Regions from separate parts of the Homo sapiens genome. Here region 1 is linked to region 2. Evidence: promoter capture Hi-C in 16 types of primary human blood cells and fetal thymus (Javierre and others, 2016). All regions are on one chromosome and are shown on one strand. Each heading gives the region's core, a stretch centred on a gene start or on the middle of the fragment in contact. The rest is flanking DNA. Distances are from core to core; before and after follow the strand shown. Region 1 holds the start of PCCB (propionyl-CoA carboxylase subunit beta). Region 2 holds the start of CEP70 (centrosomal protein 70).

Evidence for each region. Contacts are between HindIII fragments. The CHiCAGO score rates a contact against its expected background, and 5 or more counts as called.
Region 1: the fragment with the promoter of PCCB here is called in contact with the fragment with the promoter of CEP70 in region 2 in 2 of 17 cell types (fetal thymus and activated CD4 T cells); the score reaches 9.9 in fetal thymus.

Annotation. Positions count from the first base shown.
Region 1 is chr3:136,248,961-136,252,371 of GRCh38, forward strand. It overlaps PCCB (propionyl-CoA carboxylase subunit beta), which reads left to right and starts at 1,380. Exons shown (of 15, transcript NM_000532.5): 1 at 1,380-1,598. The coding sequence starts at 1,416. RefSeq lists enhancers at 1,019-1,885, 1,115-1,174, 1,805-1,854. The HindIII fragment of the contact is 10,493 bases long and covers 1-1,863 here.
Region 2 is chr3:138,592,641-138,596,251 of GRCh38, forward strand. It overlaps CEP70 (centrosomal protein 70), which reads right to left and starts at 1,620. Exons shown (of 18, transcript NM_024491.4): 1 at 1,558-1,620. RefSeq lists an enhancer at 1,825-1,884. The HindIII fragment of the contact is 6,508 bases long and covers 1,230-3,611 here.

The DNA.
Region 1 (3,411 bases), core at 130-2,629, 2.3 Mb before region 2:
ATCAGAATCACCTAAAGGTCATCTGCTAAAACAGATGGCTGGCCCCAGCCCCAGAGTTTCTGATTTAAAGGTCTGGAGTAAGTTCTGAGAATTCGAGCTTGCATTTCCAACTCACTCCCAGGTGATACTGAAGTTGCTGGATTGACAAGATTCCCTCCTTGATCAAACATTGGTCAGGCTCTTCTGAGCTCTCTCTTTGACTAGGCCTGAGTGTGGGCTCCCATGTCATTCCTTGTGGAATTCCATTTTAGCAAGAAACTTGCCAAGTCAGTTTAGCCAGAATCCTCCATTCTTGATATCTGATTACTCTCCATATCTGGTTTTGACCCATACCGCCACCATCCCCCAGGTGATGTTCAGTTACCCTGACCTGCCTTGGGCAGGAATCCTGTTAGGTCAATTTAGCCAGATTCCCCGCCAATGTTTCCTCTTAGTAATTTTCCATCCACTGACTTCCACACACTGCCCCTTAGCTATAAATTACCACTTTGCTATATTCAGCCCAATCGCTCTGACTTATGGCAAAACTCTATCCCTACCTCTGTCAGATTGGGCCTGAATAAAGTTTGCCTTACCATTCTTAAACATGAATAATTAAGTGTCATGAATAGTTTTTTCTTTAATGGGATCCATACTTTGAGAACTACTGATTAGAGGTTAAGGGTCCTGTGCTCATTATCTGGCACATATTAATGATAGGTCTCTGAGTTTGAATCCTGGCCAACCACATTGTCAGTCTTGGCTTTTTTTTTTTTTTTTTTTTGAGACAGGGTTTTGCCCAGGCTGGAGTGCAGTGATGCAATCACGGCTCACTGCAGCCTCGACTTCCTGGGCCAAGCCATCCTGCCGCCTTAGCCTCCCGAGTAGCTGGGGTCACAGGTGCAAGCCGCCATGCCCAGCTAATTTTTAATTTTTTTGTAGAGGTGGGGTCTTACTATATTGCTCAGGCTGGTCTTGGGCTCCTGGGCTCACCTACCTCGGCCTCAGTCTTGCCTCTTGATCAAATCACTCATCTCTCTGTGCTTGATTTACCTCATCTGTGAAATCCAGATAGTAAGCTAGTGCATGGTAAGTGCAAAAAGCAACACCTGGCACAATGCTTAATAAATGTTGGTTAAATCTTATAATCATTTTCTGTAGGAAGTGGGACGACAAAGTTAAGGGTCTAGGTGGTCAGAGAAGAGCAAGGACTATGTCCCTTTTTTGTGCAGCCAGGCAGGCCCTGTACTTTTTCTCTGCGCGACCCTCCTCGGGCAGCACCGGGTCTCGAACTCTCACGCCTTACTCCCAAGCAGGTTCTGTAGTCCAGCCCCCGCGGCTCCCTACAGCCAGCCGATGCTGCGCAAGCGCCGTACCCACGCTTTAGCACATGCGTACTCAGGTGCGCCGGTAGGGGACGCGCCGGCACAGCAAAAATGGCGGCGGCATTACGGGTGGCGGCGGTCGGGGCAAGGCTCAGCGTTCTGGCGAGCGGTCTCCGCGCCGCGGTCCGCAGCCTTTGCAGCCAGGCCACCTCTGTTAACGAACGCATCGAAAACAAGCGCCGGACCGCGCTGCTGGGAGGGGGCCAACGCCGTATTGACGCGCAGCACAAGCGAGTGAGTCCTGAGGGGCCTAAGTGAGTCCCGCCCCTGGCGTCCGCGACCTATCACTGCGTGCCCGGCTTGCGGCGTCCGAGGCCTCCCTGCCAATCCGCACGGTGCCTGGAGGGGCCGGAGCAAGGGTGTTCACCTTGAAAACCTGTAGCGTTTCTCGTGGAGGCGGGTATAACCAGCAGAAGCACCTGTGTGCTTTTTCATACTGTTTAACCCTTGGGATTTAGACGGATCTGGCTCGTCTCTAGCCAGCTCAACACTTAACATAAGCTTTTGGGCAACTTATTAAATCTCTGTGGGTCATTTTAATAATAATTCTTCCTTCACAAGTGTATCGTTAGACCATAGATAGCAAAATGATAGGCGCTCAGTAAAAACCATGTGCTTATTCTCGTGCCCCATGAAAGAGTGATGGTAGGTTCTTTCTCCTTTGTGGAAGCAGGAAAACTGAACTTGGGCATACTCCACTAACATGAAATGGGGGATGTGCGCGTGCAGGAACTTGTGGAACTTCTGCCCGCAGAATGCCTGGTCGAGCTCTTTAGGGCCTTAGCATGCCTCGCCTTGATGGGTAGCAAAGGCACGTGTCGGAAGCAGGTGGCCTTTCTGGGAGTGCGCAGGCTACTCTCGATGTTTGGCTGGACTGAGCAGTTGAAACACTGCCACCCACCGCCTGGGTTTTGAGGCGAGAATCCAGCTGGCCTTCAGAGATAAGCTGGGCGGCCCATTTTGGAGAGGTGATCCCTGACTTGAAACCAGGCTTGCCCAGTGTGTCCGTGACTGGTGGGTGAGTCTGGACCGTTGTGCTGAACGAATTAACCAACGGGAAGGTGCAGAAGTGAAACTCTTACAGATGAAGAGTATTCAGGCACAACTCACAACCATGAGGGAGGCACTGGGGGAGGGATGGGGTCTTAAAGTGAGGAGATTTGAACAGCTCTATATTTGTCTAATATTGATTCAGATGTCATAAATTCGCATTTGACAAGGGTCCAAAGGTAACAGTTCCTTTTGACACTTGAGAGTGAAATGTAAATTTAGTGATGGTTTGTGGTGCTAGGAGTGCTTTCTCTCCCCTGGGGCTACTTCTAACCTACTCTGTTAGGGCTGAGGGAGATGTTAGATCATCCTCTGGAAAGGCCTGTCAGTGCTCCTGTACACTCTTTCTGTTGGGGCCTATTGCTCAATTCTTCCCTGGAACATCGCCTAGCCCTTTCCCAGGTAGATCCTACTAGGTTTAGATGAAGCCTCCAGAAGCTGTTTTTCTTTTGCCAAAGTTAACTTAGGAGGCTGATTTAATATGAACCCCCTCCTGCACCCCTTTTTATTTTTATGTTTTGATACGGAGTTTTGCTCTTGTTGCCCAGGCTGGAGTGCCATGGTGCGATCTTGGCTCATTGCAACCTCTGCCTCCCAGGTTCAAGCTATTCTCCTGCCTCAGCCTCCCAAGTAGCTGGGATTACAGGTGCCCACGACCATGCCTGGCAACTTTTTTTTTGTATTTTTAGCAGAGACAGGGTTTCACCATGTTGGCCAGGCCGGTCTTGTACGCCTGACCTCAAGTGATTCACCCACCTTGGCGTCCCAAAGTGTTGGGATTATGGGTGTGAGCCACTGCACCCGGCCCTGCACCCCTTTTAAAACAATTTTTGACCATTTCCGTAGATTTTCCCAGAAGAGGAATTAGTGGGTCAAAGGGTGTAAGTTTATTTATTTTTTTTGAGACAGAGTTCACTCTGTTGCCCAGGCTAGAGTGCAGCAGCTCACTGCAACTTCTGCTTCCCAGCTTCAAGCAATTCTCCTGCCTCAGCCTCCA
Region 2 (3,611 bases), core at 370-2,869:
ATCTTCTGGCACTTTCTAGGTTTCCCGAGTCTTTCAGCCAAATTGCCCTTTATAGGTCTGAAGCCCCTTGTAACATGCTCCATATCTTAAAATTTAATTATTTTTTTCACCATTTGGGGTGGGGGAGGGGAGCTGACAATAAACCATGGCCAATAACTGTTCCTTCTCAACTGAATCACACCAAAATCTGTAAGCATCTTCAAAAGTATATACTTCAAATTACTGCAATAAATGAACATGTAACCCTTTCGAAGTCTCTATTCCTTATTAAATGCAAAAGCTCTATTCTAAAAATATTGCAACTTGCTGTTTAATGTTCCTAAGAAAGAGCTGAACTTACCCCAAATAGGAAAGAGTTAAAATGGAATGTCATCTCAACCAAATCATTCTGTCTCAGGAGAGGTGACATGAAGGGGCAGAACCTTGCTTTGAAGCAAAAGCTGTAGGGAAAACTCCAAGTCAGCCACCTCTTCCCCAAAAGGCGGGGCAGGGGAGGCCAGAGTCTACTTGGCAATATTTAAAGTACAAAACTCATGCAGAGGCTTGAAACCAATATGGGTAATGCCTGCACAGAGTTTAATATATTATACATATATTTTTGAGACAGAGTCTCGCTCCGTCACCCAGGCTGGAGTGCAGTGGCGCGATCTCGGCTCACAGCAACCTCCGCCTCCCGAGTTCAAGCGATTCTGCTGCCTCACCCGCCCGAGTAGCTGGGATTACAGGCGCACACCACCATGCCCAGCTAATTTTTGTATTTTTAGTAGAGACGTGGTTTCATCATGTTGGCCAGGGTGGTCTCGAACTCCTGACCTCAGGGGATCCGCCCACCTCGGCCTCCCAAAGTGCTGAGATTACAGGCGTAAGCCACTGCGCCCTGCCTGTTTAATATCATTGATTGAAAAACAAAGTGGCAGTAAAAAAGGAAACTCTGATTGGTCTCTCTGTTACAGGTGACTTAGCCTTCTGGCATTTTTCACCTTGAAAAACTCCTATTAGGCCCTGTATAAAGTCAGAGGTCTCCTGAATCCGGAATGAGGTTAATAAACTGGAGAAAGAGATACTCACCTGTGCTATTCGCCTAACCGCCCCCTTCTGCTCCGAGTCCTCACTCCCCAAACAACCTTCGCGGTTGTTTGACACAAAACTAGCGCTTCAGCCCGGGTCGATTTTGGGGGATGGAGTAATTACCTACAGCTTAAATCGAGTCTGTGCCCGACGTGATTCTAAGCTTTACTCTTACTGCCTCATTTAACCCTCACAACCACCTTGTAAGGCAAGAATTACCAGCTTTAGTATACAAATAAAGAATCGGAGGCGCTGAGACATTAAAGGAGAAGCCAAAGAACACAAAGCCTGGGGAGCTGGGACTGGAGGCAGTTTTGTCCGATCCCCAAACCCTTACGCAGGGATTTTTAATTGGCGCGACCCTGTCCCAGATGGCTCCTCCCCGACAAGGGTCAGTCTGACCACTTTTAGGCCCAGGTGAGGTCAAGTCCGGGGTACTCCGGGAAGGGGCTCACGCCGACGCCTCTGAGAGCCCCGAGAGCCACTCACCTTACTCAGTCGCCGGCCTCCCACCAGCAGCCAGCCGGGCCAGGTTAGGCTGGGATCAGCTACGTCAGGCCCCGCCTCCGCGACCGTTACCACCGCCGGGGGAGGGCGGCCAATCGAGCCCGAGCGCGTCGAGGGCCAGCCCCTCTTTGGCCTGCGAATGCCCCCAAACGATTCTCTCCAGCCTCTCCGGGAAGCTGGGTCCGCCCCGCTCCCTCCGGTTGGCTCACTACGGGGGGCGGGGCTTACCGCAAACGAAGGCGTCGGTGCGATGTGCTGGTCTCGGGCACGCTGGCGCTTCCAACGCACTCCTTGGGTGCCCTGTCACTTACATGGAGGCTTATTTGCCCGGAAGACGTCAGAAATACTTGTGGCCGTGGGTGAAAGTGAAGCCTGGGTTACCTGGCCACCAGAGACTGCCCTCTCTCTCGCCCCCTACCCCGCCGCGACTACGAGCCCTTGCTGGGGTACGGGTCAGCATGTTCTCGATGTTCCAGACCTGAATGACCACTGTAGCAGCTGACATTTGGAGGACCCCAATAAATATTTGTTGACGACAGTTCATCTTCCCATTCAGCATTTTCCACATCTCGACGAAGCGTCAGGCCCTACCTGAGGCTGTAGCTGTCCACCATTGTCATTGTATCTTATAGCCACATGGTGTCGCTGTTGACAACTTGTCTTTTCAAATCAGTCAAATGATGTAGGTCTGTGTTACAGTCAAATGTTGCAACAGACTGTGTTGCAGTCAAATGATGCAGGTCCCACAGTAGCCAACAGGGATGTCCCATCTAGGGCATCAGCCAAGGGTCTCTCATCAGGAGATCCAAGGGCTCTTGGAGCTCAATACTTTCAGACCCTTCTTAGCCTTCTTCCAGGCAGCTGGGACTACACTTAGGTTTGATCTCTGTGTTTGCCCCATGCAAACATGTCCCTACCCCAACCTACGCCTACCCACTGTGCTTTCCATACCTGGATATTCACTCTAACGACGGTTAGCAGATTGCATTTTCAGTTCTCAAAATGCAAATAGTCTCAGTGCTTCCCTTTTCCAAGATAATAGGGTGCCCTTGCATACTCTTCTGAGAATGGCTGCCCTAATTGTAGAGGCCAAACATCTTTGAGTCAGTTATTATTATTTTGGATGCACGTGATATAGAATCTGAGTTAAACTGTCTTCCTAAAAAATAAAGAAGTTGCTTATCTCGCATAACAGAAAGCTCAGAGGCAAGGGAGACTTTGATTAATTCAGTGGCTAAGCAAGTTAACAAGGACCCAGTTGCTATTAGTCTCTGCTTTGTTGTAAAAAAAAAAAAGGGTAGACTTCAAATTCATACTAACGTGATTTTCCAGATGTCTACTTGGAGAAATCAGGACCACATACTTTCTTTTTCATCTAAAACCTTTCCTTCTGGTTTTTTGAGCCAATAAGTTCACACAGGCACACACTCTTCCTCTTTACCAGTAACTGCCTGGGAAATGTACAGACAGCTTAAGCCTGGGTTCCAGAAGTGAAAAGGAGCTATGACAATTGGAATTGGCAATGGTGTCAGTGCTCTTTGAGTCACATGAGTTGCAAGGTGGAGACATGGCTATTTGAATAAAACTGGAGACCTGTAAAGGAGAAGAGGAAAATGGATGCTAGATGGATGATCACCAGTATCTTTCACAGTCTTCAAAGCACAAGAAGGCTGATTCCTCTCTATTTTCTAACTGAATTTTTTATGTGGTGAATGGAGGGGAAGAGTTGCTATAGCACTGCCCTCCAAAACAATTCCCTTCTTATGGACCATGAAAGCCTTTCCAGCACCTCTCTTTGCTAGAGAAGGAAAACATCCCTGCACACAAACTTAGTCTTTCACTGAGAATCCTGCTACATTGGTCTCAAGAGTTTTCTATGGGCCTCATCTACCCAATAGAATTCTAATAATTCTAAACATTCATTTAACATTCATTCATTTATAAAAATGTGTTGGCCGGGCACAGTGGCTCACGCCTGTAATCCCAGCACTTTGGGAGGCCAAGGTAGGTGGATCACCTGAGGTCAGGAGTTCGAC